Regions from separate parts of the Homo sapiens genome. Here region 1 is linked to region 2. Evidence: promoter capture Hi-C in 16 types of primary human blood cells and fetal thymus (Javierre and others, 2016). All regions are on one chromosome and are shown on one strand. The core of a region is centred on a gene start or on the middle of the fragment in contact, and the rest is flanking DNA. Distances in the headings are between cores, read along the strand shown. Region 1 holds the start of PRTN3 (proteinase 3). Region 2 holds the start of TMEM259 (transmembrane protein 259).

What was found. Contacts are between HindIII fragments. The CHiCAGO score rates a contact against its expected background, and 5 or more counts as called.
Region 1: the fragment with the promoter of PRTN3 here is called in contact with the fragment with the promoter of TMEM259 in region 2 in 5 of 17 cell types (monocytes, total B cells, M0 macrophages and 2 more); the score reaches 8.1 in monocytes.

The regions. Positions count from the first base shown.
Region 1 is chr19:838,868-845,432 of GRCh38, reverse strand. It overlaps PRTN3 (proteinase 3), which reads right to left and starts at 4,434. Exons shown (of 5, transcript NM_002777.4): 1 at 4,364-4,434; 2 at 1,807-1,972; 3 at 1,399-1,540. The coding sequence starts at 4,424. The HindIII fragment of the contact is 23,301 bases long and covers 1-5,962 here.
Region 2 is chr19:1,016,702-1,022,372 of GRCh38, reverse strand. It overlaps TMEM259 (transmembrane protein 259), which reads left to right and starts at 1,250. Exons shown (of 11, transcript NM_001033026.2): 1 at 1,250-1,601. The coding sequence starts at 1,377. RNU6-2 (RNA, U6 small nuclear 2) reads right to left here and starts at 851; the gene lies at 745-851. RefSeq lists silencers at 1,059-1,168, 1,329-1,398, 1,429-1,488, 3,747-3,966 and an enhancer at 2,764-3,363. The HindIII fragment of the contact is 5,187 bases long and covers 1-4,744 here.

The DNA of each region.
Region 1 (6,565 bases), core at 3,185-5,684, 180 kb after region 2:
TCATCTTCAAAGCACTTTTTTTTTGAGATGGGGTCTTGCTCTGTCGCCGAGGCTGGAGTGTGGTGGCATGATCACAGCTCACTGCAGCCTCAACCTCCTGGGCTCAAGTGATCCTCCCATCTCAGCTCATGAGTGGCTTGGCGTGTGCTACCATGCCCGGTTGATTTTTAAATTTTTCTTTTGTAGGCTGGACGCGGTGGCTCTCTCCTATAATCCCAGCACTTTGGGAGGCTGAGGAGAGCAGATCACTTGAGGTCAGGAGTTCGAGACCAGCCTGGCCAACGTGGCAAAACACCGTCTCTACTAAAAATACAAAAATTAGCCAAGCGTGTTGGTGCATGCCTGTAATCCCAGCTACTCAGGAGGCTGAGGCAGGAGAATTACTTGAACCTGGAAGGCAGAGGTGGCAGTGAGCCGAGATTGCACCACTGCACTCCAGCCTGGATGACTGAGTGAGACTCTGTCTAAAAAAAAAAAAAAAAAAAATGTCTTTTATAGAGATGGGGTCTCACTAGGTTGGTCAGGCTGCTCCCAAACTCCTGGCCTCAAGTGATCCTCCCATCCCAGCCTCCCAAAGTACTGGGAGTACAGGCGTGAGCCACAGTGCCCAGCCCCAAGCACTTACTGAGCACCACCTGTATGCCCAGTCCCGTTCTAAGCCACATGAGTCCAATAACGAACAACACAGACAAAAATCCTCTGCCCTGGGGAGCTGATCTTTCTGGGTGGGAGGAGGCTAGGAGGGCCCCATGAATGAGAGGAGCACGCGGTTCAGTGGAGAACAGTGAATCGGGGAGGGCTGTGGCTGTCCTCGCCACTTCCAGTGAGGTCAGGGGAGGCGCCGGAGGAGGCGAGGGCACCTGGCTTTCTGGGGGAACAGCACACCGGGCGGAGGCGCAGGCAGGGGAGAGGGGCAGGCAGGGGAGAGGCGCGCAGGGGAGAGGCGCGGGCGGGGGAGAGGCGCGGGCGGGGGAGAGGAGCGGCCGGGGGAGAGGCGCGGGCAGGGGAGAGGCGCGCAGGGGAGAGGCGCGGGCAGGGGAGAGGGGCGGGCAAGGGAGAGGCATGCAGGGGAGAGGCGCGGGCAGGGGAGAGGGGCGGGCAAGGGAGAGGCGCGGGCGGGGGAGAGGCGCGGGCGGGGGAGAGGCGCGGGCGGGGGAGAGGCGCGCAGGGGAGAGGCGCGGGCGGGGGAGAGGCGCGGGCGGGGGAGAGGCGGGGAGGAGGAGTGGCCTGGTGTCCAAGGAGCGGTCTCCCCCGGCCAGTGCCACTGGACCCAGGCTGCAGCGGCCTCGGTCGTGGCCCGGTATACAGTGGGTGCTCAATGAATGCTGGCTGCAGGAATGGGGGTCCCGGAGCCCTCTGGCCGTGCCCCTCCGAGCCCTCGCGGCCCTGCCCGCCCACCTGGATGAGGAGAACGTCGTTCAGTTTGTTCTCCGCGTCGTAGTTGTTCAGAAACACCTGAGCCACCGAGAAGTGCTGCTGGGTGGGCTCCTGCGTCCGCACGTTGTGGGCTCCGAGCACCACGTTCACCAGGCGCTGGGGTCTGCGGGGGTGGGGTGGTCACTCCTCGGCGCCCTGGACACTCGCCGCCGCCCACAGCCGGCCCTTCCCGAGGCCGCGGTGCAGCCCCAGACCCCTCCCTCGGCGACCCTGCCCCGGGCCTCCCCCCAGAACTGCCCACGCGCGCGGGGCCTGGGGTCTGCAGACGGGGCTTAGCTGGGTCCTCCCCGGGCAGAGGGACAGTGGCCGGGCCAGGGCTGGAGGAAGAGGGCGGGGCGGGCGGACAGGGGTGTGGAGGCGGCCGCTCACATGTCCCGCAGGCAGTGCGCGGCCGTCAGCACGAAGCTGGGGTGGATCAAGGTGCCTCCGCAGAAGTGGCTGCCCGGGTTCCCCCGCATCTGCAGGGAGGCCATGTAGGGCCGGGAGTGTGGCTGCGCCTCGTGCCCGCCCACGATCTCCGCAGCTCGGGCAGCACCTGCAGGGGGGGAGTCCAGGCGTCAGGGAGCCCCCAGGCTGCAGGGAAAGGGGGGATGGCAGAGCAGCCCCTGGGCCTCTCCGAGCCTCCGTCTCCCGATCTGCAACCCGGTCAGTGCCTGCTGGCTGGTGGGAAGGACTCAGCGCCCAGGCCGGGGGGGTTATAATTACGACGATTTCCAAAGGCGCCCTGGTGGCAGCTTTCAGTCCTGAGAGTCAGGAAGGCTTTTAAGACGCAGACCAGGTGGCTGGGTGCAGTGGCTCACGCCTGTAATCCCAACACTTTGGGAGGCCGAGGCAGGAGGCTCCCTTGAGCTCAGGAGTTCAAGACCAGCCTGGGCAAAATTGTGAGGACCCCATCTCTACAAAAAATTTTAAAATTAGCCAGGCATGGTGGTGTGCACCTGTCGTCCCAGCTACTTGGGAGGCTGAGGAGGGAGGATCGCTTGAGCCCAGGAGGTCAAGGCTGCAGTGAACTGAGATCACACCACTGCACTCCAGCCTGGGCAACAGAGCAAGACCCTGTCTCTAAAACAAAATTTAAAAAAATGTTTTTAAAGAAGCAGAAAAATTGGTCGGGTGCGGTTGGCCCACGCCTGTAATCCCAATACTTTGGGAGGCCGAGGTGGGTGGATCACCTGAGGTCAAGAGATGGAGACCATCCTGGCCAACATGGTGAAACCCTGTCTCTACTAAAAATACAAACATTAGCTGGGCGTGGTGGCACGTGCCTGTAGTCCCAGCTACTCCGGAGGTTGACGCAGGAGAATCGCTTGAACCCAGGAAGCGGAGGTTGTGGTGAGCCAAGATCGCCCCACTGCACTCCAGCCTGGCAACAGAATGACACTCCGTCTCAAAAAAAAAAAAAAAAAAAATTAGCCAGGTGTGGTGGTTCGCACCTGTAATCTCAGCTGCCTGGGAGGCTGAGGCAGGAGAATCGCTTGAACCCAGGAGGCACAGGTTGCAGTGAGCCGAGATCACACCACTGCACTCCAGCCTGGGCAACAGAGTGAGATTCTGTCTCAAAAAAAAAAAAAAAAAAAAAAAATCCTGGGCGCAGTGGCTCATGCCTGAGTGAGACCCCATCTCAAAAAAACAAAACAAAACAAAATAAAAAAAAAGAAGCAAAAAAAAAAAAAAAAATCAGCCAACAAAGAGACCCATTTTGCAGATGAACAAACTGAGGCATTGAAAATCCCCCTCAGGTCAGGAGTTCGAGACCAGCCTGACCAACGTGGTGAAACCCCATCTCTACTAAAAATACAAAAACTAGCCAGGTGTGGTGGTGTGTGCTTGTAATCCCAGCTACTCAAGAGGCGGAGGCAGGAGAATCATTTGACCCCAGGAGGCTGAGGCTGCAGTAAACTGAGATTGCACCACTGCACTCCAGCCTGGGCGACAGAGCAAGATTCCGTTTCAAAAAAGAAAAAAAAAGGGCCAGGCGCGGTGGCTCACGCCTGTAATCCCAGCACTTTGGGAGGCTGAGGCAGGCGGATCACGAAGTCAGGAGATCGAGACCATCCTGGCTAACACCTTGAAACCCCGTCTCTACAAAAATTACAAAAAATTATCCAGGCATGGTGGTGGGCGCCTGTAGTCCCAGCTACTCGGGAGGCTGAGGCAGGAGAAAGGCGTGAACCCGGGAGGCTGAGCTTGCAGTGAGCCGAGATCGCGCCACTGCACTCCAGCCTGGGCGACAGGGCGAGACTCCGTCTCAAAAAAAAAAAAAAGAAAAAGAAAAAGAAAATCACCCTCAGGATAGGGACCTGAGGGGGCCCATGCTCTCTTCTTCCCCTGATTCCAGCATCACTAACTCCTCGACCCTTTCACTCACTCACTCATTCATTCATTCACTCATTCATTCGTTCACTCATTCACTCATTCACTCATTCATTCACTCATTCACTCATTCATTCACTCACTCATTGATTCATTCACTCATTCATTCGTTCACTCATTCACTCATTCACTCATTCATTCACTCACTCATTGATTCATTCACTCATTCATTTGTTCACTCATTCACTCACTCACTCATTCATTCACTCATTCATTCATTCATGCATATTCACTGAGCATTTGCTGAAGGCTGGGTGCTGTCCAGGAATTCGCCTGTTACTAGCTAATTCCCAAAACAGCTCCTCAGGAGGGAAGGGCTGGGTTTTGCCCGTTTTACAGATAGGCAACTGAGTCAAATGGCCAGGGCTCCCCCTTGCCCTTGTCCTCCCCACCCCTGCAAGCGTTGGTCCCGAGCAGTGAGTGGAGTCTCCCCTGACCCTGCCTCAGTTTCCCCAGCTGTGCCAGAAGGGCTTTGGATGGACCTCGTGGTGGATATTTCCCCACAATCCACCGGGGCCTGGAGGCTGGATGGATGGGCACGTGGCTCACTCACCGCTCAGCAGCAAGGCCAGCAGCACGGACGCCAGGGCAGGGCTGGGGGGCCGGTGAGCCATGGTGGGGTCCAGGGTGCACCCACGGTCAAGCTCCTCTTATAGCCCAATGCCAGAGGCCGTTGAGTTGCCCAATGCCCAGGCTGGGTCCCCACTTCCTCCTTTTGCCTTGGGAGCCTGGGAGTCAGAACGGACTCCGGGGAGGAGGTGGGGGCTTTGGGCTCAAGGTCCCAACCTTTGTGGGGGCGGGGAGGCTGGCTGTCACCCACCCAAGTCGGGGGTCCCTGGCCAGGTGGGCAACATGGCCACAGCCCTCAGAGCAACACATGCCCACGTGCCACCCACAAGGAGACGCCTCCCTGACGAGGTCCCTGTGGCCCCAGCAAAGCCGGCCGTGGCAGGTGTGTCCCGTGGGTGGGTGAGCTGGAAACGGACAGACAGCAGGACGTAGCAGGGGACAGGATGCAGAGCTCGGGAAGGCAGGGCCCCACCACGAGTGCCCTCAGTGCCTCACCTGAGGCCCCAGCGAACATCCTCCTGCCAGTTTTGTCTGGGGGTTTTCTTCCCCCTTTAAGGCCAGGATTCTCAATCAAGAGGTGATTCTGCCCCCAGGGGACCCTGGGCGAGGTCTGAGGACACCTGTGGCTGTCACGAAAGGGGAGCTCCTGGCATGGAGTGGGTGGAGGCCAAGGATGATGCCTAGCACCCTGCAGTGCCCAGGACGGGCCTGCCCCAGAGAAGGATCCAGCCCCGATGTCCACAGGGCCCAGGGGAGAGACCAGTGTTCATTATTTGGGGAAAAAAATGGCCAGGTGCGGTGCCTCACACCTGTAATCCCAGCACTTTGGGAGGCCGAGGCGGGTGGATCGCCTGAGGTCAGGAGTTCAAGACCAGCCTGGCCAACATAGTGAAACCCCATCTCTACTAAAAATACAAAAATTAGCTGCGCGTGTTGGCGGGCGCCTGTAGTCCCAGCTACTCAGGAGGCTGAGGCAGGAGAATCACTTGAGCCTGGGAGGCGAAGGTTGCAGGGAGCCAAGATCGTGCCACTGCACTCCAGCCTGGGCAACAGAGCAAGACTCCATCTCAAAACATAAATAAATAAAAATAAAAAATAAAAAATCCAGTCTGCCCCCTGCTCACACCGGACACCAGAATAAACTCCCGATGGGGCGTACGGCATAAACCCGGGGGACCCCAGCTCCCGGGACTCGCCTCCTCTCTCCCTCCCACTCAGGGTGTGGATTTCAATGTGTGCAGCCTCCTGGGACCTCAGCAGGGCAGAGGATCATGGGACTCAGAGTCTCTTGGGGTCTGTGGAATCCTCTAACCCTGGGGTGATTCTGCCCCCAGGGGTCCCTGTGTGAGGCCTGGAGACATCCGTGGTTGTCACGACTTGGAGGGAGCTCCTGGCAGGGCCCTGCAGTGCCCAGGATGGCCCCGCCGCAGAGACAAATCCAGCCCCCATGTCTGCAGTGCCGGAAACGGGGGAAAGCCGAGGACAGAGGATAAAATTATTTATTTATAACTGAACGGTTTAAACCTACAGTGAAATGGAGAGAAGCACTGAATGAACTTGGAGGCCAAAAAGAAAAAAAGCTTTTTAACGTTTCATTTGGAAAGGATTTCACGCTTACAGAAGTCCAAAGGGTCCAAACTCCCTCCCCGCTCCCCAAACTCCCTCCCCCGGCCTCCCTCCCCCAGCTTCCCTAAATTCTGTCCTCTTGCTCAACCCTCCAGGCTGTGATCGAAGCCAGGGCGCGAAAGTTGATTCCAAATGGCCCCCTCTGCCCCAGCCCCCTGAGTATCACCAGCCACCCTTTGCTGGGTCCTGGGTACACAAGCCACCCATCTTCAGATGTCAGGGTCTCCTCCAGCGGGCGCAGTCCCTCTGCCCTCCCTCAGCCCTTGGGACCATTGAGGAGAGCTGGTGGTCACTCTGCAGAGCGTCCCTCCGTGGGGATGGTCCTGGGTGGCCTCAGGACTCAATGGAGGGAGTCCCGGGCGTGGCGTGTGTCTGTCTCAGGCCCCCCACGTCGAAGCCCATGGCTTCGGCCTGTCTCGTGCTGATGGTAATAACCTTGACCACGTGGTCAGGGCATCTGCCGGTTCCTGCACTGTCCAGTTACTGTTTTCCCCTTTGGATTTTTTTTTTTTTTTGAGACAGAGTCTCGCTCTGTCACCAGGCTGGAGAGCAGTGGTGC
Region 2 (5,671 bases), core at 1-2,500:
AATAGCCGGGTGTGGTGGCGGAAGCCTGCAATCCCAGCTATTCAGGAGGCTGAGGCAGAGAATTGCTTGAACCCAAGAGGCGGAGGTTGCAGTGAGCCGAGATCACGCCACTGCACTCCAGCCTGGGCGACAGAGTGAGACTGCGTCTCAAAAAAAAAAAACAACACAAAACTTTTTTTTGGCGGGCTTGGTGGGTCACACCTGTAATCCCAGCACTTTGGGAGGCCTAGGCGGGCAAATCACCTAAAGTTAGGAGTTCGAGACCAGCCTGACCAACATGGAGAAACCGTCTCTACTAAAAATATAAAATTAGCCTGGAGTGGTGGCGCATGCCTGTAATCCCAGCTACTTGGGAGGCTGAGGCAGGAGAATGGCTTGAACCCGGGAGGCGGGGGTTGCAGAGAGCCGAGATCGCGCTTCTGCGCTCCAGCCTGGGCGACAGAGCGAGAATCCATCTCAAACAAACAACCAAAAAACCCAAAAACCATAGTATCCTCTTGTGTACGCAGCCGGCACTCAGTAAGTGCCCCTGAAGAGCACTTATTTATTCATTGCTGCGCGAAGCTACGGGGGCAGGTGGCACAGCGCCACGCAGGAGTAGAGACTGCCAGATTGTTCTACCGCCAACCTTAGTGGCGCCACAGGAGATGGACACGGGAAGACTATGACGTTACTGGCCCTGTGACGTCATGGCAGGATCCGGGCAAGAGAAGCCAAACGAGGTGACGAGCTGTAGACTACAGCAAAAATATGGAACGCTTCACGAATTTGCGTGTCATCCTTGCGCAGGGGCCATGCTAATCTTCTCTGTATCGTTCCAATTTTAGTATATGTGCTGCCGAAGCGAGCACGACTCAAGGGTTACTGTCACACCTATTTTAAGCCCTTCAATCAAATCATCTTTTGGTTAGGATAACTTATGGTCGGTTTCATATTTAGCATAATTTCCTACAGTGGTATGTTGCAGAACAACTTTCGTGCTTACGCTTACTTTGATGTCTTCGATCACGTAAAATCCCATATCTTATCGTAATTTTACCGCCTTATACTGGCCTCATAGCCGCGGTGGATTGTGGGTGCCAATATGCAAAAGAGGTGGCCCAGATGCAGGCCCGCCCCCTGGAGCGGCCGAGGTAGGGGGTGAGGCCTCCGCGGGCGCCGCTGGCATCCCAGCGTTCTCTGCGGGCGCAGGGGGGCCGCTCTTGCCCGGCGTGGCGACTCGCTAGCGTCAGCAGCGCCGCAGCCGGACGAGAAAGCGGAAGATGGCGGCGGCGGCCGGGAGGCCGTGAGGAGAGCGGCGGCTGCGAGGGCGGCCGATGGCGGCCGGGAGGCGCCCTCGGACACTTGCGGGTCGTTAGGGCGCGACGCTGGGAGGCATGTCGGAGCACGTGGAGCCCGCAGCTCCGGGGCCCGGGCCCAACGGCGGCGGCGGCGGCCCGGCCCCCGCGCGCGGGCCTCGCACCCCCAATCTCAACCCCAACCCCCTCATCAACGTGCGCGACCGGCTCTTCCACGCGCTGTTCTTCAAGATGGCTGTCACCTATTCGCGGCTCTTCCCGCCCGCCTTCCGCCGTCTCTTCGAGTTCTTCGTGCTGCTCAAGGTGACCGCGGCCCCGACCCCCGACCCTTGACCCCAGCGGCTGTCCCGACCCCCAAGTCTGCTACCTCCGACCGCGACCCCTGGCCCCGCTGGGGACAGCGAGCGCCACCCTGCACCCTGAGGCCTATACCCGGCCCTACCGATTAGGGCTCTCCCTCGCGACCTCTGACCCTGGGATTGGCCAGGGACACCGTCTCGTGACCCCATCCCGCCCGGGGACGTCCACCCGGGAAGGCCGGATCCCGCTGCACTAGAAGCCGCTGTTCTCTACTCTGGAAACCTCACTGTCAGCTCCCTCCAGGGCCCATCCTGTCCCCGGCGACCGCCTTTCCCAGGTCCCCACCTACCCAGGCTTGGAGTCCGGTCCTGGCCTGCGAGGTAGCACCTCCCGCCCTTTGACCCCTGACTGTGCCGCCTGAGACCCTCAGTTCCGAGGCCTCTCTCCCCTCCCAATGTGCTGGCCCAGAACCCAGCCTGACGCAGGTCTCCCTCGGACCAACCCCTGTCCTGGAAGTCGACTCCCCACTCCCCTCTCTCCCTCCTTGTAGCCTTTCAGCTGCGTTCCCCGCTCCTGAGCCTCAGGGGAATGTGACTTAGCTGAGGTCACCTCGCTAGGGTTAGCGGCAAAGTCACCGGCAGCAGCGTACCACCCCATCCCCGGCCTCTTCCTCCGCTGGGTCCCCACTCCCTTCCTGCTTCAGGAGCTCAGGTTGTGGGTCTGTCGCCCGTGCCTCCCCTATGAGGCACCGGCCTCCGCGTCTTGGGCTCTGTCCCCCTCCCGCCCTCCTCAGATGGCAGAGGTCTCAGCCGTGCAGGACAGGCATCGGCCTGACTCCCTCTGAGAAGGAGTCTTGCTTGGGTGACAAGAGGGGCTCAGTAGCAGCTGCAGCCCCTCAGAAAACAAGCTGGCCGGGGTCCTGGGCCACCTGGCGAAATGGGGACGTGGCCGTTTTCGTTCTGCATCAGAACACCGCCGCGCCGGGGCTTGGGGGCTGCTGAAGTTGCGCCGTGAGCTTTTTGGATCTAGCCTGCAAAGAGGGGTCCGATGCTGGCGGGCCAGGCTGCGATCGTGGGCAAGTTCCCAGCCTGACACAGGTTGGTCAGGAGCTGGCTGCTTTTTTGGGCTCGGCAAGTGGAGCTGGACCTTGGCCGTCCTGCGGACCTGGGTGTGGGTCCCAGCCTGCTGCCACTTCACGGAAGGCCCCCCAGCCTCCAGATCCGTGCCTCCCCAGGCCAGAGCTCAGCCCATCATCCTTCCCACCTTCCTCCCTGCAGCCCCCCAGAGTGGCATGGTCGCCTCAGTAGGCACCTGAGCAGGGCTGTGAAGGGTTACGCAGGCAGGCGGCCTTTCCCGGCTCTGGGGTCCACAGACGGGGCCTGAAACTGTGGACGGAGGCTGGTCTGTGGACGTGGGTTTTCCTTCCATGGAGTAGCCTGGGAACAGGATGGAGCCACTGTGTCCTTAGGCTTGTGGAGGGTGTGTGCTGGGTGCCAGGCCAGGTTCCCCCGACGGAGCTCAGCCTCCTTGGGAGGTGCATCCCTGTCGCCTGGGCCCTGGTCCCACCATGTCCCGGTTTGGAAAGGGATCAAGCCTACCCGGCTCCATCTCCAGGCCAATACCACTCACAGGTGGTCAGATGGGGCTGGGCCAGAGCTGGAGTTCCCCGTCTTCTGTGTAGGGTGGAGACTCTTGGGAGGTTCTCAGTAACCCCAATCCCTCCTCTCTCAGCAGAGGGCTTTGGACTGTGAGATCTCTGGGTGGTGAATTTTTTTTTTTTTTTTTTTGAGATGGAGTCTTGCTCTGTCACCCAGGCTGGAGTGCAGTGGTTTGATCTCGGCTCACTGCAAACTCCACCTCCTGGGTTCAAGCAATTCTTCTGCCTCAGCCTGCGGAGTAGCTAGGATTACCGGTGCCCACCATCACAACCGGCTAATTTTTTTGTCTTTTTAGTAGAGACTGGGTTTTGCCATGTTGGCTAGGCTGGTCTCAAACTGCTGATTTCAGGTGATCTGCCCGCCTCGGCCTCCCAAAAGGCTGGGATTACAGGCGTGAGCCACCATGCCTGGCCTGGGTGGGGAAATCTGTTCTTTGTGAATTTTCCACCCGGTAATCTGGTGGCACAGAATCTGACCCTGCTGCCTTCACTTTTACTTATCTGCAAAGTGCAGGCTGGAACTGCCTGATTTCAGAGGCTGCCTTGAGTTCCAGAAGGCTCCTCTGCTTCCTGCCTGCCTGGCTTCCGGGGGTCTCCCTGCAGAGAGCCAGGTCCTCCCTGGTATGATCCCTTCAAGGTGGCTTCATCCTGTGGCATCTGTGCAGCTGAGCTCCCAGCCCTGAGCTGGCATGGAGTCCCCCAGCTCTCACCCATGCCTGGGTGGCTTTAGGAAATGCCAGGATCTCCCAGCTCTGAGCCAGCATGGAGCCCCCCGGTCCCTCATCCATGCCTGGGTGGCTTTAGGAAATGCCAGGCAGTGCCAGGTGCTGGGGAGAGAGGAGGCGGCAGGGGCCTGTGTTCCAGGGGCCCTCGGGAGACCTCCATCCAGCCTCAGTATCCACCTCTGCTGGCCTTCATGGCCCTGAGCCCAGTGTGGCAGAGACTGTCCATCTTGGGGCACTGGGTGCCTGCACCTGTGCGGTTGGGCTCTGGACCCAGGTGACCACCAAGTGGATGCCCACAGGGTGAAGGGGTCTCGACTCAGCACCCCTGGACATGGGCAGGGGCCCGCGCCTAGCCACAGGGAGTAATGGGGCTCCTCTTGTGGGGTCGTGACGATTAAAGACGGGGTATGTGAGACCCCAGGGGCCCTGCTCTGAATGGGGGACCTGTCACATTGAGGCCACTGTGAGGCTGCAGTGGAAGGAGAGGCCCCGGTGGCCTGGAGGCAGGAAGCACCCCGGGTGGACAAAGGGGAGCCCCAGGTAGTGTTTCCTGGCTGGGGCTGAGGGCTCTGTGTCCCACCTGGGAGGAGAGTGTGGCTCCGCGGGCTTGTGTGTCCGTCGGTCTGTGGGTCAGTCAAATACCCAGAGAGCGGGCAGGCTGCTCCTGGCACTCCAGGTCTGTGGGGAGACAGGAAAGGAAAGGCCCACCCAGTGGCCGAGTGTTGGGGTGCCCTGAGAGCCTCGGCCAGAACATCCAGGAAGCTTCCTGGAGGAGGCGGTGAGCACGGCCCCAGGCTGGGGGAGGTGCTCCTGTGGGTGCAGCCGTGTGTGGGCTGACCCGGAGGAAGGAAGGGTCATAGGGGTGGGGTGACTCCTGTGCTGGGTGGGCAGGGCCTCCTGGAGGTGAGCCACAGCCAGTGGGATGGGGTGGGGTGTCCAGGCAGCTGGAGAGCGTGTGGGAAGGCCGTGGGGCTGGAGCATGTGGGTGCCTGCTGGGGAGCCTGGGTCAGGGACAGGGTCATGGAGTGTAGGGGACTGGACCACCCAGGGCATGCGAGTGGCTGAGCCAGGTTGCGGGCAGAGGGTGGCCAGGGGCCCATGGGAGCATTTGCAGGTGAGCTCCCTGGGGAGGGTTACTGTGGGCGTGGACGAGGCTGCCTGGGCGTGTGGCTCAGGGCCGGGCCTGGTGAGGTGGCTGCTGCAGGGTGGCTGATGACAGACAGGTCTTGGGGAGGAGGACCCGGGACTCGGGATGAGCCTGCGTCTGGCTGGGTGGTGCCTGCTCCTTGTTTTGTGGTGGGAGACTGAAGGGGAGCTGAGGCTTTGGCGGCAACGGGCCTTGTCCAGTGGGGCATTTTTCTGGTCATGCTCAGTCAGGGAAGAGGGGCCCTGAGCTCGGTCAGCACGGAGCACCTGATGGGGCAGAGACACAGTGACGTCTGAGTCATAGCGTCTGGTGGACTTGAAGTCTTTGACTGGAGTGTGTGCACATTGTGTGAAAACACTGGTGCCCTCTCATCACGTCCGCTGTCTTCATGGGACGGGTCACTCACACCAGTGCTGGGTGTGGCAGGATGTGTGTCCTGTGCCCTCTCCCGCTGACCCTGGACCAAGCTGACCCTGCCCAGGGCAACCCCAGGAGCTGCTCTTCCCCGTGGGGCCTTAATTGTGCAGACTGGCACTGCCCTGGC